Linked DNA regions of Homo sapiens: all the other regions are linked to region 1. The links are contacts of gene promoters, found by promoter capture Hi-C in blood cells and fetal thymus (Javierre and others, 2016). All regions are on one chromosome and are shown on one strand. The core of a region is centred on a gene start or on the middle of the fragment in contact, and the rest is flanking DNA. Distances in the headings are between cores, read along the strand shown.

The links. The method cuts DNA at HindIII sites, captures the fragments that hold promoters and counts their contacts. A CHiCAGO score of 5 or more calls a contact.
Region 2: a contact is called between the fragment with the promoter of ZHX3 here and the fragment with the promoter of DHX35 in region 1, in 1 of 17 cell types (total CD8 T cells). The highest score is 5.5, in total CD8 T cells.
Region 3: a contact is called between a fragment that was not itself captured here and the fragment with the promoter of DHX35 in region 1, in 1 of 17 cell types (erythroblasts). The highest score is 11.1, in erythroblasts.
Region 4: a fragment that was not itself captured here is called in contact with the fragment with the promoter of DHX35 in region 1 in 2 of 17 cell types (neutrophils and erythroblasts); the score reaches 8.2 in neutrophils.

Annotation. Positions count from the first base shown.
Region 1 is chr20:38,958,992-38,965,980 of GRCh38, forward strand. DHX35 (DEAH-box helicase 35) reads left to right here and starts at 3,353. Exons shown (of 22, transcript NM_021931.4): 1 at 3,353-3,416. The coding sequence starts at 3,377. RefSeq lists a silencer at 3,218-3,337 and an enhancer at 3,378-3,687. The HindIII fragment of the contact is 4,420 bases long and covers 1-4,370 here.
Region 2 is chr20:41,313,678-41,320,666 of GRCh38, forward strand. It overlaps ZHX3 (zinc fingers and homeoboxes 3), which reads right to left and starts at 4,054. Exons shown (of 4, transcript NM_001384317.1): 1 at 3,832-4,054. RefSeq lists silencers at 3,574-3,863, 3,874-4,323 and an enhancer at 4,434-4,483. The HindIII fragment of the contact is 7,702 bases long and covers 1,799-6,989 here.
Region 3 is chr20:41,050,801-41,057,789 of GRCh38, forward strand. The region is part of intron 2 of TOP1 (DNA topoisomerase I); the gene reads left to right. Among named protein-coding and RNA genes, the nearest start is that of TOP1, 25 kb to the left of the region's middle. RefSeq lists a silencer at 2,329-2,623 and an enhancer at 6,920-6,989. The HindIII fragment of the contact is 191 bases long and covers 3,947-4,137 here.
Region 4 is chr20:41,032,408-41,039,396 of GRCh38, forward strand. All of the region lies in intron 2 of TOP1 (DNA topoisomerase I), which reads left to right. Among named protein-coding and RNA genes, the nearest start is that of TOP1, 7.1 kb to the left of the region's middle. The HindIII fragment of the contact is 595 bases long and covers 2,822-3,416 here.

The DNA.
Region 1 (6,989 bases), core at 2,103-4,602:
AGACTTTTATGGAATTGTTGGCAATCAACTAAATAAATTCTGGATGCCATCTCAAGAAATATCAGTTTTAATTTCAGAGCAGTTATTTTAGCCCATTCTTTCTGAAAATAGTTAATTAGGAAGACTAAGAATCTGTTGAGACCATTCCTAGTTTGTGGAAATAAAACCACAACATCAACATGCAGGTTATTACTTAGGTATTTTCTCTAACAGTAGTCTGTGTAGGCAAAATAACCCCTTGGGGAGAGTTGGACTTTGAGAACTTTCTAAGGCAGATGAACTAATTTTCTTCCAGGAGAGTGTAGCTCTAATGATTTTAAGTGGCCCATGTAGTTGAGCAAACACTGGCCTGGGAATTAGAAAGCCCGAGTTCTAGTTTTAGTTCTGATACTAAATTAACTCATTGATTCTGACCAAGTCCTTTTAACTTCTATGTACCTCAGTTTCCTATAAGACAAGAAATTCAGGCTAGGTGTTAAGTATGGTCTCCTCCAGCTTTAAGATTATGATCCATGAGACCAGCCTGACCAACATGGGGAAACTGTCTCTACTAAAAATACAAAAATTAGCCGGGCATGGTGGCGTGTGCCTGTAGTCCCAGCTACTAGGGAGGCTGAGGCAGGAGAATCGCTTGAGCCCGGTGGGTGGAGGTTGCAGTGAGATGAGATCTCGCCATTGCTTGCCAGCCTGGGCGACAGAGCAAGACTCCATCTAAAAAAGAAAAAAGATTATGATCCAATAATACAGGCATGGCCGATTTACTGTCTCTTCATAAACAGGAAGGTTTCATTATATGAGTAATAGATAAAATAGATAAGTTATTTTATTTATTTTTTTTTCTATTTTTTGAGATAGAGTCTCACTCTGTCGCCCAGGCTGGAGTGCAGTGGCGGATCTCTGCTCATTGCAACCTCTGCCTTCCGGGTTCAAGGGATTCTCCTGCCTCACCTTCCCAACTGGCTGGGATTACAGGTGACTACTACCACACCCGGCTAATTTTTTTGTATTTTTAGTAGAGACAGAATTTCGCCATGTTGGCCAGGCTGGTCTCGAACTCTTACCTCAGTTGATCTGCCTGCCTCAGTCTCCCAAAGTGCTGGGATTACAGGTGTGAGCCACCGTGCCAGGCCATGAAATAATCTTAAAAGTGGCATTTATTTCATTTTGCCTTATATTCATGTATAAACCTTGGTTTCCGTATTTGGGCTGTTAGTAAAATAAGACAAAAATAAAACAAGGAAAAATCAATGTCATGAAGAACTAAAACTAAGCCTAAAGCATGATGTTTATCTGTATATTACTCAATAGGCACTGCTACTGGGCTACGAATGTGAATGTGCCATGGTCCTCGTCCTCAGTAAGTTCCCTGTGTAATAGTGGCGGCAGGTAAACCACAGATCAACTAAAACTAAGCCTAAAGCATGATGTTTATCTATACATTACTCAATAGGCACTGTTATTGGGCTACGAATGTGAATGTGAATGTGAATGCTGACATGGTCCTTGTCTTCAGTAAGTTCCCTGTGTAATAGTGGCGGCAGGTAAACTACAGATCAACTAAAACTAAGCCTAAAGCATGATGTTTATCTACACTCAATAGGCACTTGTTACTGGGCTACGAATGTGAATGTGACATGGTCCTCGTCCTCAGTAAGTTCCCTGTGTAATAGTGGCGGCAGGTAAACTACAGATCAACTAAAACTAAGCCTAAAGCATGATGTTTATCTACACTCAATAGGCACTTGTTACTGGGCCACGAATGTGAATGTGACATGGTCCTCGTCCTCAGTAAGTTCCCTGTGTAATAGTGGCGGCAGGTAAACTACAGGCAACTAAACTACAGGTCACTTTTCTCACAAAAGTGAGAATACAGTTCCTAGACTACAAGGGGGAATGTTTAAGTTGGATAGATAATTTAGAGCTAGCCCTTTAAGGGATAAAGATAATTTAAAGGATGGATGGAGAATTCTAGGCCGAGGGACTAACAGATATTGAGTCCCTACATTAATTACTATAAAAATAAATCAAAGAAGATTCTTACATGAACCTATGCAGGTAAATTCAGATTTTTTTCCCCCTGGTGGATTTGCTCTGAGTTGAGGTAATGAGAGCTAACATTGATTCAGTGCCTGCTATGTTTTGCACTGTTAGGTACTTTACATGTTATCTCATGTAATACCTCTTTAAACCTCATTTTACAACTAAAATTAAATGACAGCTAGGAGCTAGGAAATGGCAAAGTTACGATTCCAAGTCTGGACTGGTTGTCCACAAAAGCCCCTGCTCTTGCCATAATGATGCCACTTCTTTCAAAGAATTCAGAATTTTCTTCACAGCTTTAAAAATGCATAGATTCTGAAGCCTCTCACTTCCTTCCAATTAGTTGCCTACCTAGAAAGTTATTTCCTCCACTTGAGCTCATCACCCCTTCTTAGCGCTCCTTTGGATTACTGTAATTTCTTTTTCTTTGACCTCACCTTTCGTCTGATGGATTAGTGTAATCTTTCCCAAATTTGTTAATCTGAAGAATTCAGGAGCTTCTCAAAATGCAGGTTCCCAAGCCATGCTCCAGGACATCGATTCAGAATTGGATCAAGGCCTAGAATCTGTGTTTTTAACAAGCATTTGACTCAAGGGTATCAAATTGGAGGAAGCACTGAGTTGGTGGACTACCTTAATTGATCTACCCATTTTCAGTCTCTTCTGCCAACCCATTCGCTCCACCCCACCCCCAGTCCGTTTTTCCGTTTTGCCCTCAAGGTCCCTGAAGACTTCCATATCATTTCGCATTGTTTTATTTGGGGCACTGTGCCGCACTACCTGGGCCCACAGCAGGCGCGCAATATTTACTGACAAATACAACCCACGAGGTAGTTCCTATTATTACCCTTCAATTTGAAATTGAGAATAAAACAGAAGTCGACAAGTTGAGGTAGCTTGTGACATCAGTATTTCGTATTTAATCCAGAAAGCACTGCTTCAACGCCCAGTGCGTGCAAGGTTCCACTCTCGGGCCAGCGGTCCTCTCCCAAAGCCCGTTCTTCCTAAGTGTGCGGCCGCCATCCAGGACACGCCACGCTCGTAAAAGGTCACCTGAAGCATCTACCCTCCACGCTCAAGAGGTAGGCGGAGGAGCGCGCCCTTTTCTCCAAAATGGCTGAGCAGGGTCACGTGGGCTCGGGGGCGGGGCCGGTGCGCTCGCCGGAGCCTGGAAGTGGGTCACGTGGCTCAGACGGGGGCGGTAGCTGTGGGGGCGTGGCCGTCACACGGCGCGATCCGTCTGGGCAGCGGCTCTTCGGGGGCCACGCCCTCCGGGCCCTGGGGGCCTAGCGCGCGACGGTGGGGTGGAGCTAGCCTCGTGACCTTTTACCCCAACATGGCTGCGCCCGTGGGACCGGTGAAGTTCTGGCGACCCGGTAAGGCCCTTGGTGGAACGCTGGGCAGATGCGGCGGCCTGACTTCGGTCTTGGCGCCGCGGCCGGCGCCCTGGGGCCAGCAGACCTGCTCGCAGGCCTGACCTCGGCGAGCTGGGCGCTGCCGCCTCTGTGCGGGGGGAGCTCTGGCTCAGGCTCCCCAGTGGTCCCGAGGGATTTGGGGGTGCTCCCCTAGCGTGAGCAGAAACTCTTTGTGACCTTGTTAAAGTGGTCCAGCCTCCTCAGGCCTCGTCTTCCTCGTTACTGATGCTTGTCCTGCCCACCCCGCGAGATGGGGAATCCTAAAGCTCCCTCTCGTGTCTCGTTAGCGCCCTGGGGTTGCGCTGTGGCCCGACAGACAATGCTGCTCGCTGCTGGAGGCTTGCAAGCCCAAGTTATGGAGTCAGACTGTCCGGGTTCGAATTTTCGTCTCTGCCTTGTAGTAGGGTGACCTTGGGCGAGTCACTTAATGCCTCTGAGCCATGACTTCTTTACCTGTAAAGTGGGCAGAACAATAGCTTCTATGCTGTGGGCTTAAATGACAAGCAGAACGCGTTGTCAGACTTAGAATAAATGCTCAAAAAAAGGGAAAGTGTGTTATTTTCTTTTAGGATAATTGTTGTCCACTCCGAATGTCTACTAGAAAAGGGAACAGTCCTTCATATTGGCTGCCAGCCACTTCCTCTCTTACAGACTAACACGAATCACAATCACAAAATGCTTTACTTGTTTTGTCTTGATATTTACTCATTAATCAGGTTTTTACTGAATGTGCATATGCCAGACCGTACTAGATGCATTACTTCCTCTCTGCAAACAGTTTCTTGTAAAAAACAAAAGTTTTTAAATTACAGCTACCAGCTTGATTTTTTTCTACCACCTGCACCCCTGCAGGTCTGGATGTGCAAAGTATATTGCAGCAAAAATGAAATGACACCAAGAATGTAATATAAGCAAAGCTTTTAATTTTTCAGTGGTTCTCTGAAATTCTGACCATGCATATAAGTGATGTGAGAGATAAACCCAAGCAAGAGATATGTTTAATGCTTTTTAAAAATTTGTAGTCTGTCACTTGACAGTTTTATGGTTCAGCATTTCAAGTCATCAGCCAATTATCCATCCTGAGTTTTATTTGCATCCAAAACTAGGAACTTACTAAGTAATGAATACTTTTAATTTATTCACGCTTTTAGTAACAGGTGAAAGTGTTAGGTATAATAAAGAGCTGAATTAATTGTTTGAAATCAGACCAGGGTACTATTTTGGTTAAAGAACGTGGAATTACTCTTAAGAGTTCTATTTCATTATTTAGTTCATCCATTGAGGGTACACTTATTGAAAACCTAATCCTGTGTTCAGGAGACAAATACAGATGCTCAGGGCTCTGCTCTCAAGTTACTGTCTCTCTCTTAATTGAATATAAAGTTAGATGTCCTCTAGAAGAGATTTTACAATGAGACAGAGTAAGGTGGTGGTAAAGAAGATGAGCTCTAGAGTCAGACTGCAGTGCCCATCATGTCTACCACTTACTAAGTTGATGACTTGATAGTCACTTAAATTCTCAAAGTCTCAGTTACTCCATCTGTAAATTGGGTATAATACCTACCCTACCCAAAGTAGTGTTGTGAGGTTTAAATGAGAATAACACACAACAGGATCTTGGCACTAGATAGGTTACTATTATAATTATATGGAAGTATGGAAGAGGGAGGGAAAGTTGAATGTATGGATAAGAAATACTTCATTAAGGTGGTATTTTTGGAGTGAACATTAAAGGATGAATAAGGTTTTGTTTCATAGAGAAATGGAACTCGAAGCAAAGGGTGCAGCATGAACAAAGGCAGAATGGGATTTGTGCCTTTAGAATGTCCAGAAAGCCAAAATAACAGAGCAGTGTGATAGTGTTAAGTGCTAGGGTATATTTTGGGGTATGACAGGAGATGAAGCTAGAAAAGTAGGTAAGGGCCTCATTGTGAAAGGTCTTCATGACAAGTTAAAAAGTTTAGACTTCACTGTTTTTTTGTTTTCTTTCTTTTTTTTTTTTGAGATGGAGTCTGGCTCAGCCGCCCAGGCTGGAGTGCAGTGGCGCAATCTCGGCTCACTGGAACTTCCACCTCCCAGGTTCAAGCGATTCTCCTGCCTCAGCCTCCTGAGTAGCTGGGACTACAGGTGTGTGCCACCACACCTAGCTAATTTTTGTATTTTTAGTAGAGATGGAGTTTCAGCATGGTGGCCAGGATGATCTCAATCTTTTGATCCCGTGATCTGCCCACCTCGGCCTCCCAAAGTGTTGGGATTACAGGCGTGAGCCACTGGGCCTGGCCTGACTTCAGTGTTTTTAAGCAGGAACAAATCAGGTTTACTTTAGAAAGATAACACTGGCAGTGGAGTAGAGAGTGGATGGAGGAGGAAATTAGAGAAGGTACTAGTGAAATCCAGGAGGGATGTTAAAAACCTTAATTCTGACCTGGGAGCTTAGAGGAGGTGCCTGTTGGAGAGACATTTTAGAGGAAGATGTGGGAGAAGATGAAGTCAGTAATAACTCAGATTTCTGGGCTGGGTGACTGTCTAGGTTAGTGATTCTCTAATTTTGCTTTATAGTTGAATCACTTGGGAAGCTCTGAAAAGTCCTGATGTGCACTTGCACCTCACACCAATAAATTAGAACTTTGGAGGCCTAGGAGCCAGGCATCAGTGTTTTTTAAAGTCTCTAAGGAATTCCAGCATGCATCAAAATTTGGGAACCACTGGTCTAGGTAAATTGTGTTGTCATTAGTTGACATGGGAATAGCTTTAGTACACAGTTATTGGGCCGTTGCTTTGTGTTAGTCACTTTCATTTACACATCTTATTAAACAGTCACAGTATCTCTGTGATGACAGTAATACTCTTATTTTAGTGAGGAAATTCAAGATATGAAGTAGGTTGTGGGAAATGCAAGGTGAAAGTCAGGGAAGCTGATATAAGGCTAGACATTCAAATCATGAACATATCCTGTAGGCCTGAGCCTGTGATTACAGAGGTCTTTCAGACAGTCTAAGTGAGTGAAGTTGCTTACTGGAGGTAATAGGGAGTGGTGGGGACTGTGGCAGAGTGTGCATACACTGGATAGTATGTACAGTGGAGATCTACAGTAGAGCTTACATATGCTTTCTAAAATAGGGAGTTGTACTCAGGTCCACCTAATTGTTATCATATGGGTTCAGAGTTGCCCAATTTTTTTTTTAAGAAGCCTAATATCCAGATCTGAATGGGAAAATTTTATGTGTTGTTTTAAATGAATGATTTAAAACATTTTAACAATAGCATGTCTGGGTACCTTAAGATACCCATTTGTGGTGTCTACCTTAGGAGTGTGACTTAAGGGCCTTGTATGACCTGCCTGAGAGTTTTCTACAAAAATCTTTTACTTAATTTGCAAGTACACGTGGATCCGAAGGGCCTGCCCATTTTCGTTTGCTCATTTGATAAATATTTCATGATTGTTGACCATGTGCATGACGAAAACTTTACAATAGGTTTTAAGCTTTTTTTGACTTGACCCACAGTAAGATATAGCACACATACACAACTGAA
Region 2 (6,989 bases), core at 2,804-5,303, 2.4 Mb after region 1:
GGCTCCGCCTCCTGGGTTCACGCCATTCTCCTGCCTCAGCCTCCCAAGTAGCTGGAACTACAGGCGCCCGCCAACACACCTGGCTAATTTTTGTATTTTTAGTAGAGACGGGGTTTCACCGTGTTAGCCAGGATGGTCTCGATCTCCTGACCTCGTGATCTGCCCGCCTTGGCCTCCCAAAGTGCTGGGATTACAGGCATGAGCCACCACGCCCAGCCTCCTTTTAGGCCTTTAAGAAAATAATTTTCATTTAGGATTCCCCCCTTACCACCACCACTACCAACTTCTTGTATATTTGGAGGATAAGAAAAACAAGTTTTTGAAGGTCTCTGTTTGGATTGTGTTCAAGGAGATCCTTTTTCTTAAAAATAAGAAGCAACTGTTTTTTTCCAAAAAGTCACTAAAATGAAAAGTAGTCTACCTGAAATTCAAACCTTTGAAAAGCTTACGCTCACATTACGACTTCTCTGTAAAAATTCTACCCCAAGATACAATTTTCCCATCCTCATAAATTAAAATGCAATTATACATTTTACTACAGATGTTTCATCCTGAAAGATGAAACTGGTACTTTCAAACAGTTCAAGAGTCACAGGAGAGATGTAAAATTGCAAAAGGTCAAGGATTTATTTTAAAATGTTAAAAAAAAATTAAGTATACCTGCTAGGCCATCCAAAAACTGATAAGCAGGGAGAGGAAAAGGACAGAATTGCCAGAAAAATAAGTAAATATGTAACAGCTATTCCCCAAATGAAAACACATTAAAGCTATAATTATATCTCTGGGTATCTGTTGACACAAAAACCCCACTATGCTCTTGAGGCTTACACTATCACTATCAACTACCAAATTGAAATCACAGCTGTAAACATAACTGGGAAACTTTATACTTTTCAAAAATATCCAGTGTGACACAGGGATAACGCATAAGAAGGAAAGCCAACAACATTTGCCAAAAATGTTCCTTCCCTCAATTGTTCAAGTTAAATCAAGACCGTAATTCTTTTTAAGACCACAGCCTCACTTTGTAAAATTCTTCTCAGATATAGATGAGAAAGAAATATCCTGACCTTTAAGAGATTGTCATTTTAACTCATGACACAGCTACCTAGAAGCCTAGAAGGCTACCAGCAAGGTCATATGAATAGATGGATAATGAGCATTCATTCTTTCCTTCATTCATTCAACAAATATTAAGTACCCACAATGGGCCAGGTGCAGTTTCTGAGCCCTGAGGATATATCGGTGAAAAAAAAGTCTCACACTTCAGGGTTAATGAGGGAGAGAGACAATACACCAACAAATAAATATGTATTACCAAGTGGTGGTAAGCAAGGCAGGATAAGAACAACAGGGAAATGGGGTGTATTTGATAATGCAGTCAAGCAAAGCCAGACAACCTAACTTTTGAGCAGAGACCTGAAGTAAGGGAGTCAACTATGTTAATATCCAGGGACCAGAGTTCTAGGCGGAGGGAACAGCAAATGCAAAGGCACTGAGGCTGGAGTATGCTTGACTTTTTTGAGACAGAGTCTCGCTCTGTCTCCCAGGCTGGAGTGCGGTGGTGTGATCTTGGCTCAATGCAACCTCCGCATCCCGGGTTCAAGCAATTCTCCTGCCTCAGCCTCCTGAGTAGCTGGGATTACAGGCACGCACCACCAGGCCTGGCTTTTTTTTTTTTTTTTTTTTTTTTTTTTAGTAGAGACGGGGTGTCACCATGCTGGCCGGGCTGGTCTCGAACTCCTGACCTCGTGATCCGCCCGCCTCGGCCTCCCAAAGTGCTGTGATTACAAGTGTAAGCTTGATGTTTTTAAGAAACAGCAAAGAGATCTGTCTGGCAAGGCTCGAAGTGAGGATGGTTGTTCGGAAGAGGGTTAGCCTGGCAGGCCACAGCAAGGCCTTCAGAGTTTACTTTAAGACAAAAAGCTATTGGAGGGCTCTAAGCAGAGGACTAACATGATCTGAATTTTTTAAAGGATTGCAAAGAGAAACACAAGTTCCTACTCATAAAACAAAGATGTATCTCTCATAATCTAGTTATAAGTCAAAGAAAAAAAGCATAGAATAAAAGTTGTGTAGTATGATAGCATTTTTGTAAGAAAAAACACGTATACATGGGAACAAGGCTAAAAGGCTTAATACCAAATTGTGATTTACTATGGTTTGTGGGATTATGGGGTTTTTTTTGTTTTGTTTTGTTTGCAATGCTTTTCTTTGTTTTTCAAGTTTTCTGCCTTAAACATGAATTACTTTGGTAATTTTTAATGTTATCTTTAAAAAGAAAAAAGCACTCCACCATGAGACTTCCCTTGTCTGAAATCTTACTTCAATATGAAAAAAAAAAAAACAAACTCAAAACCAAAAACCAAAACAACATGGGGAACATTTTTTTCCAAAAATTACCACACTTCCCATGCAATGTTTGCCTGTCATGAACCACTGCACAAATCAAGCCCCGCTCAATGTATCAAGGTCACAAAACCAACTTGGTTAATATGTTGATCATTACATAGTGGCTCTGTCCTCTACAGCAACTTTGATACCATCTTTCCAAGGCAGCAACAGAAGGGCCCTTTTCATTCATTTTCTATGTGTCTTTGATACTATTTTGCGCTTCTGGATTTTTCCACTGTATGTCTCTTAGAAACAAATTAAGCTCGAATAAGTTGTTCCAGCTAATGAAGTGCGCTTTTGGCTCCTTCTCCGTGGTTCAGAATTATCCGGCAAAATACCAATTGTTTTAGGATGCATTTTCTCTTAGTTTTGAAATATTGCAATACTAAGTTACCACAAATAAAGAGCATTGAGATAACAACACACAAGAACGTGTATAAATGGAAACTACTGTAATCCTTTTTTAAATTAAGGACGTGTGGACGCCTCATGAATAAACATTTAGGATATCTGGATAAATATATACTATGTGTTCACATAGATAAAAACAGAAAGGAGCATTCCTTCCTACCTCACTCCCCCACCCCAAGTCACATAAGTTTCTCGCAGGGCACAAGCCCAGGGCAATCACTGCTCAGAAATGTAAACCATGCAACTCAAAATGACTCAAGCCCTCAAACACTCCCCACCTAAGTCCTACATCCCATCCACTCCTCAATCACTTCCAACAGGCTTCCCTGAATGAAAATCCCAAACTGGGAAGGCTTAACAAGCTCCAAACTCCACTCACACGCCACTCAGGGAATCCGAGGACCTGGGGCCCACGTGTAGTGTTTTCGCGTGGGCAGACAAGGGTCCCAAGATTCAGGGTGCTACTGTACCCCGAGTGGTTCGAGTCCTGGCTCTGCCGCCTTCACTGGTCGAGCTGACGCTCTTTACACCGGGGGCATGGGCTGCCACATCCCAGCAGAGTGCAAGGGCCCTCGGGCGTGGACGCAGGCGGCTCTCGGGTGCACACGCGGAACGCACACTCGGGCATGCACTCTCACACGGTCAGGCGGGCCTGCGCGAACGCCCCCGCTTCCCCTCTACCACCCCCTTTTGCGCCTTCTACGATGGTGGCACGCGGGGCTACCCTGACCCCTAGGACCCCTGGACGCCCGCTCCTGGAGCCCGGGGGGTGATGACAGATGGCGGAGGGCGGGGCTCCGGGGGGAAGGGGCGGAGCCTCTCAGCATGGGGGTGCTGGCGGCTGACAGAAAGACCAGGGGCAGCCGGCGGGAGGGGGCTGACTGAGACTGCGGGCCGGCCGCGGGCCAGGCGTGGCGGGAAGGAGCTCGCGCAGACACAGGGTCTGACAGGCAGAGAGAGATACAGACACCGGGGACTGACAGCCGCGGGGGCACGCGGGGCCGGCTGGCCGTGGCGGGCGCTCACCTGGCAGCGGCGGCGGTGGCGGCGCCCGCGACCGGGCCGCTCTTCCCGCGCTGCGGGCCTCCCTCCCCGCGGCCGGGCGGGCGGCCGGCGCAGGCCCCGCAGAGGCGGCGGCGGCGGCGACGCCGGAGCCGCGGACTGCTGAGCGGCGGGGACGCAGCTGCACCAACCGACTCCGGGCCGCTCGGCTGGGCTCGGCCGCTCTCGGAGGCGCTCGGCTCTGCTCGGCCTTGCACGGCTCCCCTCGGCCTTGCTCGACTCGGCTGGGGGCGTGGCCCAGGCCCCCCAGTCCGCCCAGGTCGCCTCTGGCGGCCGCGGGGCGGGGCTTTCGAGCGGGTGCGAGCCCCCTGACGTCGCGGGGAGCGGACCTTGCCCCCGGCGCATGCGCCAGCACTCCTCCTCCCCCCTCCTCCCCGCCCCACCGTGTGGAGGCTGAAGAAGACGGGGAAGGAGGCGCTGGGGGCGGATGCTGCGGTCCCAGAGGTTCCTGGCTTTTGTACTCCATATCCTGCTCTTTCCAGAGGACCACTTAAAGAAGGTCACACCAGGTTACACTTTCAAAAGGATGTGTGTGTAGGCTGGCAGGGGCTCTCGCTCCTGTCTGCCCCCACTCCTCCAATTCCAGTGTTTCCCAACAAGCGTCGACTAGGAGTGGTCTTTTATCCAACCAAGGGTTCACTGCAATTTTTAATATTTTCTGTTTTCTTAAGAATAATAACAAAAAAACTAACTCTTGATCACTGTTTTAACATTGAGTCTTCAAGTACTTGAACTTTCAAACATCAGTCAGCCTCCTCGAGTCCACTAATACCGTCCTTTCTTCATAGCTGTTGTATAACCTGTAATGCCTGGGATGGGGTTGGGTTCTTTCCTGAATTCTCGTCACATGATCCAGGCACCTTTTTAGTTATGGAACCAAGTCTGCAGCAAATATGCTCAGAAAGTGGCTCCCACCTTTAGAATCCAGTGATTAGTAAACAGCAGGAGCTCTACGGTCTTGACACACCTGGATGGGAATCCCAGATCTGCATTAATCTAGCAGGTTAATAATTGTCTGAGTGACTTTGGACGTGTTAATCTCTCAACTGTAAAAGGGCAATGAAACATGAGTAAATCAGTAGAAATATTAAAAGGGTTAAATGACACCACATATAAAGATTTCTGCACAGTGCTTGGTGTTCAATAAGTAAGGCTGCCTTTAACTTCAAGTAACTTTAGAACCTTCAGATCCTGAAAACCAGGGAGCATATACACAAGTGTGAGCGATGTGTCCAAGTAAACAAGTCGATAGTCAAACACCCATACGTGGCACCTTAGCTTGCTCCTTTCACAACCTTCCCTACCTCAGTTCATGTCAACTCCATTCTTCTGATGACTCCAGACAAACCATTGGAGTCATCCTGGACTCCACTCTCCCTATCATATCCCACATGCAACCCATTAGAAAAGCCTGTCAGCTCTACCTTTAAAATACCCCTTTTCCTCTTTCCTGGAATATTGTAGTAGCCTCCTGCCTGTTCTCCACGATTCCACTGTGCTCTCATGGTGCCTTCTCTCAACACAGAAGCCAGAGGGATCCTGTTGAAACCTAAGCTCAAAAGCCCCCAGAAGGTTTCCCATCTCAGAGTAAAAGCCAAAAAAAAAAAAATATGGGGGCAGTGGGGTGGAGAGTGGGACACAGTCTCACTCTGTCTCCCAGGTTAGAGTGCAGTGGCCCCATCACAGCTCACTGCAGCCTCAACCTCCCAAACTCAAGCAATCCTCCCACCTCAGCCTCCCAGGTAGCTAGGACTACAGGTGCACGCCACCATGCCCACCTATTTTTTTCATTTCCAAAATGTGGTTTTTTTCCCAAAGGCTTCCAAGATCCTATGTGTCTGCCCTTCGTCCACTTATACTCTCCACCTCTCTAACTGCACCTCCTTCCACTCGGCCTCCTCATTGCATGCCAGGCACACTAGCCTCCTTCTTGCTCCTGGAATATGGAGGCTCACTTCTACTTCAGAACCTCTGTACTTGGTGTTGCTTCCTCCAGATATCAGAAAGGCGTGTGCTTTCCAAGTTTCTACTCAAAAGTCACCTCCCCAGACTTTCCCAGACCACTCTACTAAAGTATCAAGTCCCAACTCCAATCACTATCCTCTAAGCCTGCTTTACTTTTCTGCCTAGCCCTTCTAACCTGAATATCATCTATAATATCTCTGAAGGTGGGAACTTTGTTTTTCCCATCTTCAACATCTAGAACATGGGTCGACATGTTCAGGTACTCAATAAGTATTTCTGGGATGAATGAGAATGTATATAGGTTATACTGCTCCAATACAACTTCATTTATTCAACAAACTTTTCTGAGCATCTATTTTGATCCAGGCACAGTGGGATCCTGAGAAAAATGAGGTATTCTCCCGACCTTTGAGGAACAGTATTTCAGAGGAAACAGTCATGTAAAAAAAATACTTCTGGCCGGGCACAGTGGCTCACGCCTGTAATCCCAGCACTTTGGGAGGCTTAGGTGGATGAATCATCTGAGGTCAGGAGTTCGAGACCAGCCTGACCAACATGGTGAAACCCCATCTCTACTCAAAATACAAAAATTAGCCAGGCATAGTGAGGCGCACCTGTAATCCCAGCTACTTGGGAGGCTGAGGCAGGAGAATCACTTGAACCCGGGAAGCACAGGTTGCAGTGAGCGAGTTTGCAGCATTACACTCCAGCCTGGGCAACAAGAGCGAAACTCTGTCTCAAAAACAAACAAACAAAAAACTTCTGGGAGAAAATATGTAACAAAGATGGATGTGCCAACTGCTTTGGGAAGCACAGAGAATAGCATAATTAACAATATACAGGAGAGTGTGGGTAGGCTTCCCAGAAAAGGTGACTTTGGGGCCACATCTAAAGAGTTGTTGAGACAGAGATTCCAGGCAGAAGAAACAGCCATTTAATACCAGTGTTGGGGGGTATGTCACAAATGATATTTACACACAGAGGCATATTACTTTCCTTTAAAAAAAATTAAGCAGATTTCAGGTAATCCCTATAATAATGTCATTTGCACTCACATTCTAATGAGCTTTCTCAAGCAGTAAGGAAACTGCTAGTATAGTTAATGCAATAGTTACCACCTGACCTCTGTTTTATTGGAATGGGCTACACCTGTGAAC
Region 3 (6,989 bases), core at 2,792-5,291, 2.1 Mb after region 1:
TATCACTCAAGACCAGCTTGTTATCTGTCCTAGACAGAAGCCATCTTCTTTTAAAAGTATTAGAACATACTGGGTATAGAGTGTTAAAGAGAATGTTGATTTTTTTAAAACTTCTGCTTTTGGGGATGTGATATGGGTTTGAAAGTCAGGGAGGAAGTAGAAGATGTAAGGGTTTGCCCCAGTACAAGAGTTTTAATAATGAGGTGATAAATATTTTCTTTAAATAATTTATTCACCCATTGTGTTCACTCAAGTGGTTCTAGTGTTCACTTTCCTTATGCGCTAGTTGTATATTTGTATGTCAGAGAAGAGCAGAGATTATCTTTGACAGAAGTTATATTGTGAGTGTCTTTTTGGAGAAGGTAGGTTTTGATTGTGTAACTATGCCACACCTCCATTCCCCATACACTTGACTTGATGATTATCTTTGAAGGAGGAGCCCATCATATTATACAGCTGCCCTAAGTCTCAAATCTATCATCAAAAGGCAGTGTAAAGGGGACTGGCTCAAAACATGGCAAAGAGTCTCCTTTATATCAGAAAGCTCTCTGCCTTTGCTTATAAGGCAGCAAAGGACTCTTCTTCCTGCCCTGATCTGATTACCCTAAAAGCTTTAAGATCATGGAATAGTTGATAAAACAGTCAGTATTCTGTGCTGATGACTTATCCTTTTCTCCCTTAAGAAAGAGTAAATGTTTTTGCTTGGATTGAGTTTAGAGACACCAGATAGAATAAGATTGGCAACACTGTTAGCCACCTGCTGACCACAGCTAAACAGGCATATGTGCTTCTGCATGGGGAATGCTATGGCGTTAACAGTGCCTTCCTTAAAACCTGTAAGTTCGTTAGGCTTCCGGGTACCAGGGTTGTTAGAGTAGGCCACAGTTTACTTCCTTTTTCATAAGTGCTTTTCTTTCCTGGATCTCAGTATAGGAAGGAAAATCAGACAGCATTTCTCAGTTGTTGGCTCGGTGGGCATTGTGAATGGGTATGGTTGCTGCCTCAAATGCACATATACAACCTGAGCTAAGTTGTATGAAATGATTGAGTAGGCTGACTTCAGTTCTATGTAAATTAATCAAGGAGAAGGTTTAGGAATGGTTGTACCGCATTGACAGTTGTTAACATGTTTATAATTTCTTGGAGATTAGCCAGGAATTCTGTTACAACTACACACAAATATTGATTGACTTTCAAAATAAAATTCTTTAAAATCACTGAAATTTTCTGAGCCCAAGTTTCTTCATCTGTAAGATAAGCAAATTTACTAAGGTCATGGGTATCTAGTACATGATGGACAGAGATTTGAAGCTCTTTACCACTGATTTATGCTACCTTCTCATAGATCTAGTAGTTAAGTGACTTTTACCCAAGGTCATACACTGAGTGATAGAACAAGGATTTTGAATAAGATATTTTTCACTGTTGCACTGGTCTGCTTTCTCCAGCTTCCTTCAGAGGTCCCTAAAGGGGACCTCTGTGCTGCTCTGCAGTGCCTCTATCACATTAGGGTTTGGTCATGGTCTTTTGTGCTCATCATGTTTGAACATGTTTATCAAAGTATTTTACAGACTTGGTTATTTCTTCCCCTCATGTAATTTGTGTATTTGTCTGTTTTCCCTATGGAGAATGAACTTTTTATCTTATATATGCCTGATGTGACATTGATTTGGCCACTTGGGGTTGACCTTGTACTTGGTTTCCATATCTGCAGCTTCATTGTCATTTTGGGTTTAGGCCAGCTTTCAGGAACTTTTTAACAGTTGGATCAAATTTTGTTGGATTCATTTGATACTGAGTTTCTTATTCCTGTATATTTTGTTTCCTTTCTATCTAAGCAGAGAACTAGGACTCTAGAGTTACAAGAAGTTAGAGTATATCTATAACTTTTTTAAAAGAAAAAAAAAGGACCAGGCATGGTGGCTCACTCCTGTAATCCCAGCACTTTGGGAGGCCAAGGCAGGTATATCACTTGAGGTCAGGAGTTCGAGACCAGCCTGGTAAACATGCTGAAACCCTATCTCTACAAAAATACAAAAATTAGCTGGCCATGATGGTATGCACCTGTAATCCCAGCTACTCGGGAGCCTGAGGCAGGAGAATCTCTTGAACCTGGGAGGCGGAGGTTGCAGGGAGCTGAGATTGCACCACTGCACTCCAGCCTGGACAGTAGAGTGAGACTCTGTCTAAACAAACAACAAAAAAAAACTCTGTTTTGGACACATGACTTTAGGGAGATAAACATAACTCTGGGATTTTATTTTTTAATATGCTCCTGAAAACAGTCAACTCTCCCATTTCCTAGCTGGGAGAAGTATGTCTCACTTAATTTTGCTCATTCAGGAGAGGATGAATTTTTCAGCAATGATAGTAATAGCTGGCTGTTGCAACTCATTTCTTGCTGCAGCGTAGCACATCCACCAAGAATGCCCTTTCACCTTCCTTTGTCTTGCCAACTCCCTCTTAGCTTTCAGTAAGACTTGGCTCAAACTGCATCCTCCAGGAAGCCTATGTTAACTCCTAACTGCCACTCTTGGATCCAGGGTTTTTATTTCATCTTGTTCGCTGGTGGAACCGGGCTGTTTTATCTCATTATATTACTCTTCACTTTGAAACAAGGAGGCAGTTAACCTAGATTCAGTATTTTTACTCTTAGACTTTTTTTCCCCCAAAATGCCCATAAATTAAGCAATCTTACTGCCTTACTGCGCTTACTGAAAAATAGCAGCACAGCAGAAAAATAGAAAATCTTGCTATCATGTAAGAGATGTGGAAGTAATGGTGCCCACATGCTTCATTTGGAAAATGTCTATTACCTTTATAAAGAGTTTGTATAGTTTCTAAATACAGGAGCATTATGATGCGATAGAAACTGTTACTTTAATGTTAATTGACGTTCGAAAATTTGAGTTTCAAATGTTTCCTAAAACATTTTTTCTTAACCCTTTTGCTATTCCATTGATCTGCCATTCTACATTCTGCCTCCTTTGTTTCCCTGTCACTTATTAAAAATACTGCCTCTTAACTTTGTTGTCATCCACTTATTTCTCTAGATACACCTTGGAGTGTTTTTTCAGGCTGAATTGTTAGGCATGGGATTGCTGGGTTTAAAGAGGGAGTGTGTGAGTTTGTTTGATTTTGCCAAATTCTTCCTTCATGGGGGTTATACCAACTAGATGCACCTTATTTTCAGAGATGGTAAAATGAGGCAAAAAGTATCTTAGATTTGAGGAAATCGTTACCACCCAGAGTTGTGAAACTTAGAGGTGATATATGTAATACTGCCTTGCACAAAATATACATTTAGTAAAGGATACTGATATGGTTTGGCTGTGTCCCCACCCAAATCTCATGTTGAATTGTAGCTCTCATAATCTTCCTGTGTTGTGGGAGGGACCCGGTGGGAGGTGATTGAATCACCCGGGCAGTTACCTCCATGCTGTTCTTGTGATAGTGAGTTCTCATGAGGTCCGATGGTTTTATAAGGGGCTTCCCCACCCCGCCCCCGCACCTGCCCCACTTTGCTTCACACTTCTCCTTGCTGCCATCATTTGAAGAAGGACGTGTTTGCTTCCCCTTCCACCATGATTGTAAGTTTCCTGAGGCCTTCCCAGCTCTGCAGAACTGTGAGTCAATTAAACCTCTTTATAAATTACCCAGTCTTGGGTATGTCTTTATTAGCAGCGTGAGAATGGACTAATACAGATACCTAGATACCCATTATTATCTTTTGTGAACTGGGACTATTTCTCTATCGTAAGAGTGGTAAGAAACTTGAGTTGAGATAGTGTTTGAAAGCACGCTAGCATGGTGCTGGCACCCGTATTAGTGCCCTTTTCTCTTGTGTGCCTTGGGCAGCCAGCTACTTGAGATTATATCTTAATTACCTTAATGGATTGTAAACTCCTTGAGGGCAGAGTCCTTGTCTGGTGAGTCTTTAGCAGGAAGCTTTGGACTTGAATATATTTGGTTTTAAATTGAATTAGTCTTCAGAATATATTTCTGAAACAGTAGGAAAAGGATTTCTTTTTTTTCTTTCTTTTTTTTACACATTAGCCCTCAACTCCTGTGTAATGCTACCTAACATCTATTCCTACAGTAGGAAAAGACAGAGACACTTTCCTTTTGTCTGTCGGAAGCTTCTTTACTTAAAAGCTTTTTAAACCCCAGGGAATACGTTAGGTAACAATAGCAAAAGATGTTGATTCCTGTTCTATCTGTTTAACTTATCTGTCCTTAGGGAGTAACTCCAGTTAAATTACAGTGAAAGGAGTTAGTTGCCATAAGTCTTCTGTTTTATCAAGATTGCTTTATTGCAGGGGGCTTCCTCCCATGTCTTCATCTAGAATTTTCACTAGGAATTAAAATATTTGTTACTAGAAAGCATTAGTTGGCCTGAATTCACAGTGAATTAGGTTTTCTGATGATTTAATGTGCACTGGTTTGCATCTTTCATATCTGTCAGTTAAATTCAACACATTTCTTTTTGCACTTAACAGGTGCTTGAAGTGGCAGGGTCCTTCCTCTAAAACATTTTAAATAACACTAGTAGATGAATTCCAGTTAAGGGGAAAAGGTATGTGCTGAAAGTAATCTTCAAGGCCACAGTATGTTCTCTCCAAACACATGTTTTCACCACGAGGGATGTAGATCTGTGTGCCCTTATTGGCTTTACTTTTTCACTTACTGGCATCTCTTCTGACCAACATCTTTAGTCAGATGTCCCACTGTTACCTTAGATACAATATGGCTCAGGCTGGTCCATCATTTCTCCAGTATTTTTCACCATCTTTATTCTGTACAAGTTTCTTGTTTTTGCCAAGGCCCCTTGTTCCCCCAGTCACCTGGACGTAAAGACTTTCTCTGACTCTTTATTACACTGCATTTATTACACATAGTAGTGAGTTCCTGGAACTGGGTTCTACTTCCATTTTCCCAAATGTGCTTTTACATTTTTTCCTTCCTTCTTAGTTCCTTTGCTGTCACTTTTTTTGTAGATTGCTTCAGAAACCTCTAACTATTTATTTTGCTTTTACTTTTATCTCTTACTATGCCTTAACACAAACCCTCTCTTGGAACTAGGCCAGTCTTCTTGCCATGCCCTCACATAATAACACAAAAATGAAGGGTTGGAAAGGAAGAAGCTTAAAGATAATGTTTAACTTATGAAAAGTTTCAAGCATACACATAGAGAAATATAATGAACTCCCATGTGTCTGTCACTCAGCTTCAGTAATTACCAACCTTTTGCCAGTTGAATTTTGTCTATCCCCGTATCCCTTGGTGCTCCCCCAACCACCACCACCAGAGAGTATTATAAGCAAATTCCAGGCATCGCTTACATGGAAGTACTTCAGTATTCATCTTTAGAGATTCTTTAATCTGTCAGTTTACCTACTGCAGAATATCTCTACAGTTTCCCTTTCAGTTGGTTATTTAGTTTGTTTAAATGCTTTTGGCGTTCAGAAGGCATCCCATTCTTTTAGTGGTTAGTTCTTTTGTACTGACCTCAATTTGCCTCCCTATCATTTCTCAGCAGTAATATAAATTTATATTTACTCAGAAATTACAAATTTACTGAGTAAATTTATATAATACAATATAATAGTCATTAAGATATTTGAAGAAGTTGCCATGTAATACACTTTTTGACACACCTTTCACAGCACACATAGCACATGTAATAACTTTTATTTGTGTTTTAGAGAGAGGGTCTTGCTCTGTAGCCCAAGTGGAGTGTGGTGATGTAATCATAGCTCCATCCTTGAACTCCTGTGCCCAAGCAGTCTTCCCACCTCACCCTCAGAGCAGCCAGTATTACAGGTGCACCAAGATGCCCAATTAATTTTTTAAACAGTTTTCGTAGAGACAAGGTCTTGCTATGTTGCCCAGGCTGGTCTCAAACTCCTGGCCTCAAGTAAGCCTCCCACCTTGGCCTCCCAAAGTGTTGGGATTGTAAACATGAGCCACCGTGCTCAGCCATTCCTTTAAAATAGGAATACTTGGGGTTCAGATCTTTGACCTAGGTCTTATTTGTATCAATGAGATTAATGAGCCACAGCCCCGAGTTTCTCACCAGACATTTTTGATTTGCATTTTTAGACAGCAGTTGCTTTAAAAAACTTGGGGACCTGGCTTAAAATCAATTTTGAAATTTTGTGCATTAAAAAAAAAATGTGGCCGGGCGCAGTGGCTCACGCCTGTGATCCCAGCACCAGACTTTGGGAGGCTGAGGCAGATGGATTGCCTGAGCTCAGGAGTTCGAGACCAGCCTCGGCAACACGGTGAAACCCCATCTCTACTAAAATACAAAAAATTAGCCGGGCATGGCGGCATGCACCTGTAGTCTCAGCTACTCGGGAGGCTGAGGCAGGAGAATTGCTTGAACCCGGGAGGCTGAGGTTGCAGTGAGCCGAGATCACACCACTGCACTCCAGCCTGGGTGACAGAGTGCACCTGTAGTCTCAGCTACTCAGGAGGCTGAGGCAGGAGAATTGCTTGAACCCGGGAGGCTGAGGTTGCAGTGAGCCGAGATCACACCACTGCACTCCAGCCTGGGTGACAGAGTGAGACTCTGTCTCCAAAAAAAATAAAAAAAAAAAAGTTATTGGCAGACTGTTATCTGAAACCTGCCTGGAATTACTTTCAATTTATCCTTTACTTAATTTCCTTTTTAAGTTTAGAGCTTTTTAGTGATTTAAGCAAATTTTCCTATGTACACTAGTATTTGTCAAGATAAATTTTTAAAGCTTGGTCCATTTTTTACTATAAAAGTAATTGTGGGGAAAACTAGAAAACAAGATGAAGTATATGCACAAAAACTCAAGTTACTCATAAATTGACTACCCTAAGATAACTGCTTTTAATATTTTGATGTCTGTATTCCAGTCTTCTTCATATGTATTTATGCGTTTGTTGAATTATACACAGAGTAGTTTTTTTTAATGTGATGTCCTTTCCATACTCTAGGGCTGTATTAGCAGATCTTG
Region 4 (6,989 bases), core at 1,869-4,368, 2.1 Mb after region 1:
TCTAAGTGAAAAGACTTCCTAAGTATTGGTAGAACTAACTGTAGTGGGGCTGAGTCATTATTACAGTACTGTACAGGCTGCGTAGCTATCTGTAGAATTGATAATGGTAATACCAGGTTAAAGTGTTAGCGATTCTTCTGCTGTTTCAGAGGTCTTGAAGTTTTTGCCTGTCTGCTATGGAGATAGGGAGTTCTCCCCCATTTGACCCCCTTAGCAAAGCACAATACTTGGCTCCATCAGTCTTTAGTCTAAGAAGTGATATATAGGATCATGGTTTGACATCATCTTGTGCTGATTCTGGTTGGCTTAATGGAATCAAATTGGATGAAGGTAATTAAATATGAATTGTTTCTGATGCTAATAGATAGTTGTACTTCTGTCTGTTGGGTATGGGTTGGGATGGGCGGTAGCATAGCTGATTGCGGTGGGGGAATTTCAGATAGCTGATGATGTGGCTATCTGAAAATTGCCACTACATTTTTAAAACTGAAAAGTGATGGTACCGCCAAATGAAATCTGCAGCATCCTCAGACTCAATCAGGAAATACTTAAGCATTATGCTCCAGGGTGGTTTTCTTCCCTTACATTGCAACTGGACTCCTTGAGGCACCTTTTTAGAATTAGTGAGCCGCTAGGATTTTTATACTATGCTTTGACATAAAAGAAAGTTGCTTGTCAATATGTGTTTTTTTAGTTTACCAGCATATCAGATCTCACAAACAAATTTTAGGCTCGGATTGGATGTTTCTAGTAAAAACAAGAAAATCCAGGCATCACTAAAAGAATCAGAAATACGTTGTGGCTTGAAAGGTGCAAACTAAATAATATAGCTAGCAGTAACGGTCACCAACTCCTGCTTTTCTTTGGTTCAGTAGATAGAGTAAAATGGAAAATAGGAAACCAAGGTCAGTCCCCAAATCTCATTTTAACCAATAGCAGCAAAAAAAAAAAAAAAAAAAAGGAATTGAGTCTGACTTTTTCCCCTTGCTGTCAGCATAAAGATGGGGAATTGAGAGAGTTGGAAAGACATTCATTAGTTTGTTCAGATTATTAAATAACATGTCTTAAAGTTTATATTCCAAAATTGGGCTGTGAGGTTTTTTTGTTTTGCTTGTTTTCAGTGCATGTGTGGGGTGGGGAGGTGCAAAAAAATGTTTGCCTTCTAATATACAGCTTTGTTGTATATTAATTATATAGTAACAGTTGTCCCTGCTGCTAATGGTATGGAAAATGATTCTGTTGTGCTTTCTGAATACATATCATTTTAGAAGTTTCAGATTATACTAAAACCATGTTATTTCATATTAGTTGGACATGAATGCATATTTATATGACACATCATTATCAACTTTTGCCTTTTGCCATCTTTTTAGTGCAAAGTAAAACTGATATTCTTCAAATCCAAAGTCGTTTCCTCAGAAGTGTGTTTTGTGAGGGATTGCATCTTTCCCATGTGAAACTGTGTCGAACTCCAGTAAACTGTGTTTGCTTGGGAAAATGAATTCAAATGTAATTAGTTTGAATGAAGCTGTGGAAATGTTTGAAATGAGTATTTTGACATTGGACCTGGAGGTTTAAAAAAAAAAACCCTATTGAAAGAATAGTAAAATATATTGGATGTGGAGGTGAGAGTCAGTTGAGTGAATTTTCTGTGTTGTATGGTTTAGATTATCTGACTATCCCTTAATTATTTTGAAACCATTAACTTTGGATAATAAGGGCATTTAGGCAAACAGTTGACACATGGATTTCTTAAGGTAAAAAGTTTAGAGACTTCCAAACTAGTCCTTAAGAGGCGAATGGGTATTGTGTTTAAAGGAAGCTTTCAGATTGTGTTTAAACTTCGAGTAGTAATATTTGGAACTGTCTTTTCTCCCTATTTCCATGCCTCATACATCTCAAGTTTGAGCAGCAGCTTTCCATCCCCATGGCTCCAGGCCAATAGCTGCAGTAGAAAATCTAAAATAGAGGCCAGGGTTGGAATAATTAGCATTTTGCCAACCCCCACCCTCCCTGCCACCTGCCTATCTAGATGTGGACAGTATGTGCTGTGTTGATAGCATAGGGCCTGGGAAGGGTGGAGAGGGATGTAAATGAGGGCAGGGTGGACAAAGTTTGATTGGGGGTTGCGGGGAAGCTTGTAGAGGAATGTCTGTTAGATATTGATGGTATTTTGGTGGCGTTATGAGAAATGGCTGATAGTTTGCTGAAATGATTTAATAGTAAATAGATATTGTTGAACATTTTCTGTGTGTATAGGAAAGATCCTAGATATTTTTCACACTGGGAGAGAAGTGATGTTACTGGTATCTCATGCATATCTCTGGAGTATATAGATCGTAATATCAACTTTGGCTATCTGTATCGAAGTTTGTATTAACTGTCTTTATGTGTGTCATTTATGTCTCTTAACGTTTAGTAAGAAAGAAATTCCAAGGAAGGTAGGCAACTTTTAATTTTAACTTCTTTCCTTTACTTTTTTTTTGGGCGGGGTGGGGGGCAGACAGGGTTTCTGTTTGTTGCCCGGGCTGGAGCGCAGTAGTGTGATTGCAGCTCACTGCAACCTCTGCCTCCTGGGCTCAAGCGATCCTCCTACCTCACCCTCCCAAGTAGCTGGAACTACAGGTGCATGTCACCACGCCGGGCTAATTTTTGCATTTTTTGTAGAGACGAGGTTTCTCGCCATGTTGCCCAGGCTGGTCTTGAACCCCTGGGCTCAAGCAGCCTGCCCACCTCAGCCTCTCAAAGTGCTGGGCATGAGCCACTGTGCCTGACCCTTAATTTCTTTTTGGTAGGTATTCATTTTTCATTTGTTGTCTTAAGCTTCTAGTTTCACTCACTTACCTGTCTGCTAAATTTTTCTGAAATGTGTAATAAATGTTTTAATTTACCATCTCCCTTCTACCCTTCCCATCAGATTTGGGGTGGGGAGGCATCTCTACCAGGCAATTAATTCCCCTCTGAGCCTTTGAAATTAACATTTTTGTTTCTGTGGATTCAAGGAGCCTAAAGAACACAGTTCATTAGCATTCCTAAGAAACACCTAGGTAAGCTCCAACAAAAGATGTTAAAGCAATCAGTATTTTTAGGGACTTCAGATCTCCTGTATTTGTTGTTGTAAATGATGATGTTGGGAAAAGAATTTAACAGATCCCTGGGTATTCTGACGTTTTCCTATATTTTAAGAACGAAACCGACCCAGCCAGCTTGTGGTCCCATTATTCTTTATATTGTTTTTCTTAGCACACGCTAGCAAAGATAGATGCCTAGGACTTTTCTTGGCTATTGGAGTTTATAGAAAAAAAGTTCTTTGTTGAAGGTTAGTCCTCCACCAGAATAATACACCCTTTTTCCCCTTAGTAGAAGTCCAAATGTTAATCTTGCTATCATATATGTATGAATGCCCAGATTTATAAAGCTTTGTAGGTATATTACTGATTGTGCAGGAGACTAATCTAGGAGGCTTCAGGATCATTGTCATTTGTGGATCTCATTGGCTAAGACCTTTTACTTAACCTGACTCCAGTAAGGTAGCCCCTTTGTTTCCTTGTAGTTGACTATGTGAGCTCTTGCCAAGCAGCAGAAGTGGGATGAAGGGAACTAATTTTGAAAACTTATTAGGCACCACATTTTTATGTGCATTAAATCTGAATTGAATAAAGATAATATAGATTGCATAGGCTTATGGGGAGAACCAGAGACCAGGAAAGGAAACGTTTTTTTCTTTTTACCCTTTATGCCTTTTCATGTCCCCTTTTTGATAACATGCTGCCTTGGTCCAGATTCTGGAAACCCCACTCAGGCTGTAATTGGTAAGCTTCTAGTACAGATGTCAGAACCTGCCCTTGATTATCTGCTGTTAGAGATAGCTTGGACCCTTTGTATGTGGAATGTTAGGTCTAGGGGAAGAGTGGGGGTGTGAGGAGACAGCTGTGGTAAAATAGAAAATTGGTGTAGGATTCCGAAAAATCGAGATAAGTCCCTGTTCTTCCTATGAAACATGATCTGACCACTGAACCTTGTTTTCTTATCCATAAGCAAGGATAATATTTATGTTTCACAAACTGTTGAGAATTAGATAAGTATATGAAGGTGCCTCTCTGTCCTCATTGTAAAATGTAAACTTTGATGAGACAGCCTCTATTCTCAACTGGATCTTTATTTTGAATGTTAGGTTTGAAATAGTGATTGATGTTGGGGAGTCTGTCTTTCATTGGTATTCCCTGTTAAAGTTTTAAATCTTCTTGACATTTACACAGTGAATTGTAACATGTAACTAGTGTTGTTGAGTCTTTACCTAATTGAATCAGCAGAGCCTACACTGATGTCTTCCAGTTACAAAGCGGTCACTGTAAAGTAAAAGGTGTCTTCATATCTAGGTTTGGGCTGAGAAGGATCCAATTGTATATCTAGTTCCTACTTTTCTTTTTTTTTTTTTTTTGAGATGGAGTCTCACTCTGTTACCCAGGCTGGAGTGCAGTGGCGCAATCTCGGCTCACTGCAAGCTCCGCCTCCCAGGTTCACGCCATTCTCCTGCCTTAGCCTCCTAAGTTGCTGGGACTACAGGCGCCCGCCACCACGCCTGGCTAATTTTTTGTATTTTTAGTAGATACAGGGTTTCACCGTGTTAGCCAGGATGGTCTCGATCTCCTGACCTCGTGATCCACCAGCCTCGGCCTCCCAAAGTGCTGGGATTACATGCATGAGCCACCGCGCCAAGCCTAATTCCTACTTTTCTAAGAATGTTTACAGCAAAGTGGTCATTGCCAAAGGAACTTGTAGCAGTACAGAAGATGGGCTCAGAAATGAAAGAAGTCTATTGATGTGACTAATTTCTCAACCATTTAATAGAATTATGGATTTTCTATTAAAAATAACTTGACCCTTTTCGATGCATTTAATAAAATGCCAAGTTCATTATTTGTTAATTTTTTAAAACCACAAAATTCAATATGTCTTGTGTCAGCATATTTTTTCAAAGGCCACTATTTTACTTCTCCCCCAAAACGTTTTTAAATTAAACAGAGAACTCTCAAAGCACCTGAGAATTACTTCAGTTTTTCATTTATTCAAATAGTTGCTTAAAGTGACCAACTTGGTTTTCTTTGAAATAGTAATTCTTGGGAATAAGAATACCTTAAATAATATAATAAAGCTTATGTGTGAGAATTTAGTACCAAATGCCGTGTTAACAGTTATGCGTGAGTATAGGCATTTGGGAGATTCCATGAAAAAATTTGATAAAGTCAGTAGAAATTTCAGTAATGGCTCATAAGTCTAGCTAATGCTGAATATTGAATTGCCTTGAATTTGTTTTTTTGGAAGTGTTACTTAAAGGAAATAAACAAAAGTCATTTAAGGATGTGTTCACTAGTGTTCATTAGGTTTAAGCCAAATGGATCTTAGTAGAGATCTTACGCCATTCAGCAAAAGGATTATCACAGAAGCATCACAACAGGCGCAGACTTAAATTCAATTAAAAGTAGGCAGGAGGACATAATTTTGTTGTATAGAAATTATGGAATAGGGCCTAATTTTAAAGAGTCTTCAAAGATAAACATATCAGGAAAAATATAGCTCATAAAATATGGGGAAAAAAATCTGGGAAGATGAGTATTTGTTAATGCTCTGTAGCTCCATTGCCCTCAGTATACAAGGAATGTGCCCACAATAGGGTTGGATTTAAAAGTCTTCAAAGCTTTGGTCTCTTTTTCTTTCGTTTTCCTCTGATACAGAATGCGAATAGTCTCCCGGCCTCCAACCCCCTCTACATCCCCACCACCCCATAATAGAGACTTAAAGGGAATTTAAATTCGAGTTCTTGAGCTTCTGCTCAATGGCTAGGTCTTTGAACAAGTTAATATCAGAGCCTTAGTTCTTCACCTATAAAGTAGGTTTAATACTTACCTTACAACATTGAGGATTAAAGAGCATGAGAGGATTACTTTATGAAAGGTGAAGCTTAGAACAGAATTTTTAGTTCCTTGCCAATGCTAAAAAACAACAACAACAACACCTTTTTCAGAAATTGCTTTATTAGGCTTTTGTACAAAGGGAACATCTTTACTTTCTTTAAATTTGCACATATATCTATTGTGAAATTTTAACCAAGCTGGAGGGGTCACTAGGGAGCATTGAGTATGATACTATTGCTGTAAATCATAGAAAGGCTGGCTCAGGAGGGTACTGACTTGCTTTGACTTTGCGGCAACTTCAGTTGTCCAGTGACAAGGCTTGCTGCATACACACCACTTTGTTTGTTTCTCATACCTTAAATTGTGGATTAAAAATCTTTGGGGCAGGCCTGGAGGCTCATGCCTATAATCCCAGCACTTTGGGAGGCCGAGATGGGCAGATCACTTGAGCCCAGGAGTTCAAGATCAGCCTGGGCAACATGGGAAAAACCTGTCTCAACAAAAAAAATACAAAAATTAGCCAGGTGTGTTGGTGCATGCCTGTAGTCCCAGCTACTTAGAAGGCTGAGGTGGAAGGATTGCTTAAGCCCCGGGAGGTGGAGGTTGCAGTGAGCCGTGAGCATGCCACTGTACCTACCCCGTTTTGGGCAACAGAGTGAGACCCTGTCTCAAAAAAAAAAAAAAATCATCATCATCTTTGGCAGTGATTAACTTTCTCCTTTCACACTTGGGATGGTGCAATATTTGGCATCTACTTAGGAAGCTAAAATTTTCACGTTTAATTGTAAATGGAAAAGTTTAAGTTGCCATATTCATTCATACAAACATTCAGAAAGTGAATATTGTGACTAGACACAGATGAACAAGACAAACCCACATGCCTATCAGGATGAACTTTGAAATTAGTACGTTGTAGGTATATACAGTCACTTCCTCTGTTGAGATTTTTCATTAGGCCTCAGTACAAAGGCTGCTGTCATACAACATGAATGGGGACTGGAGGTACTTTCTGGCAGTTAATATTTCACTATCAGTGCAAGAGAGTGACGTCTCCATTTAGTCCTAATCGTGAGT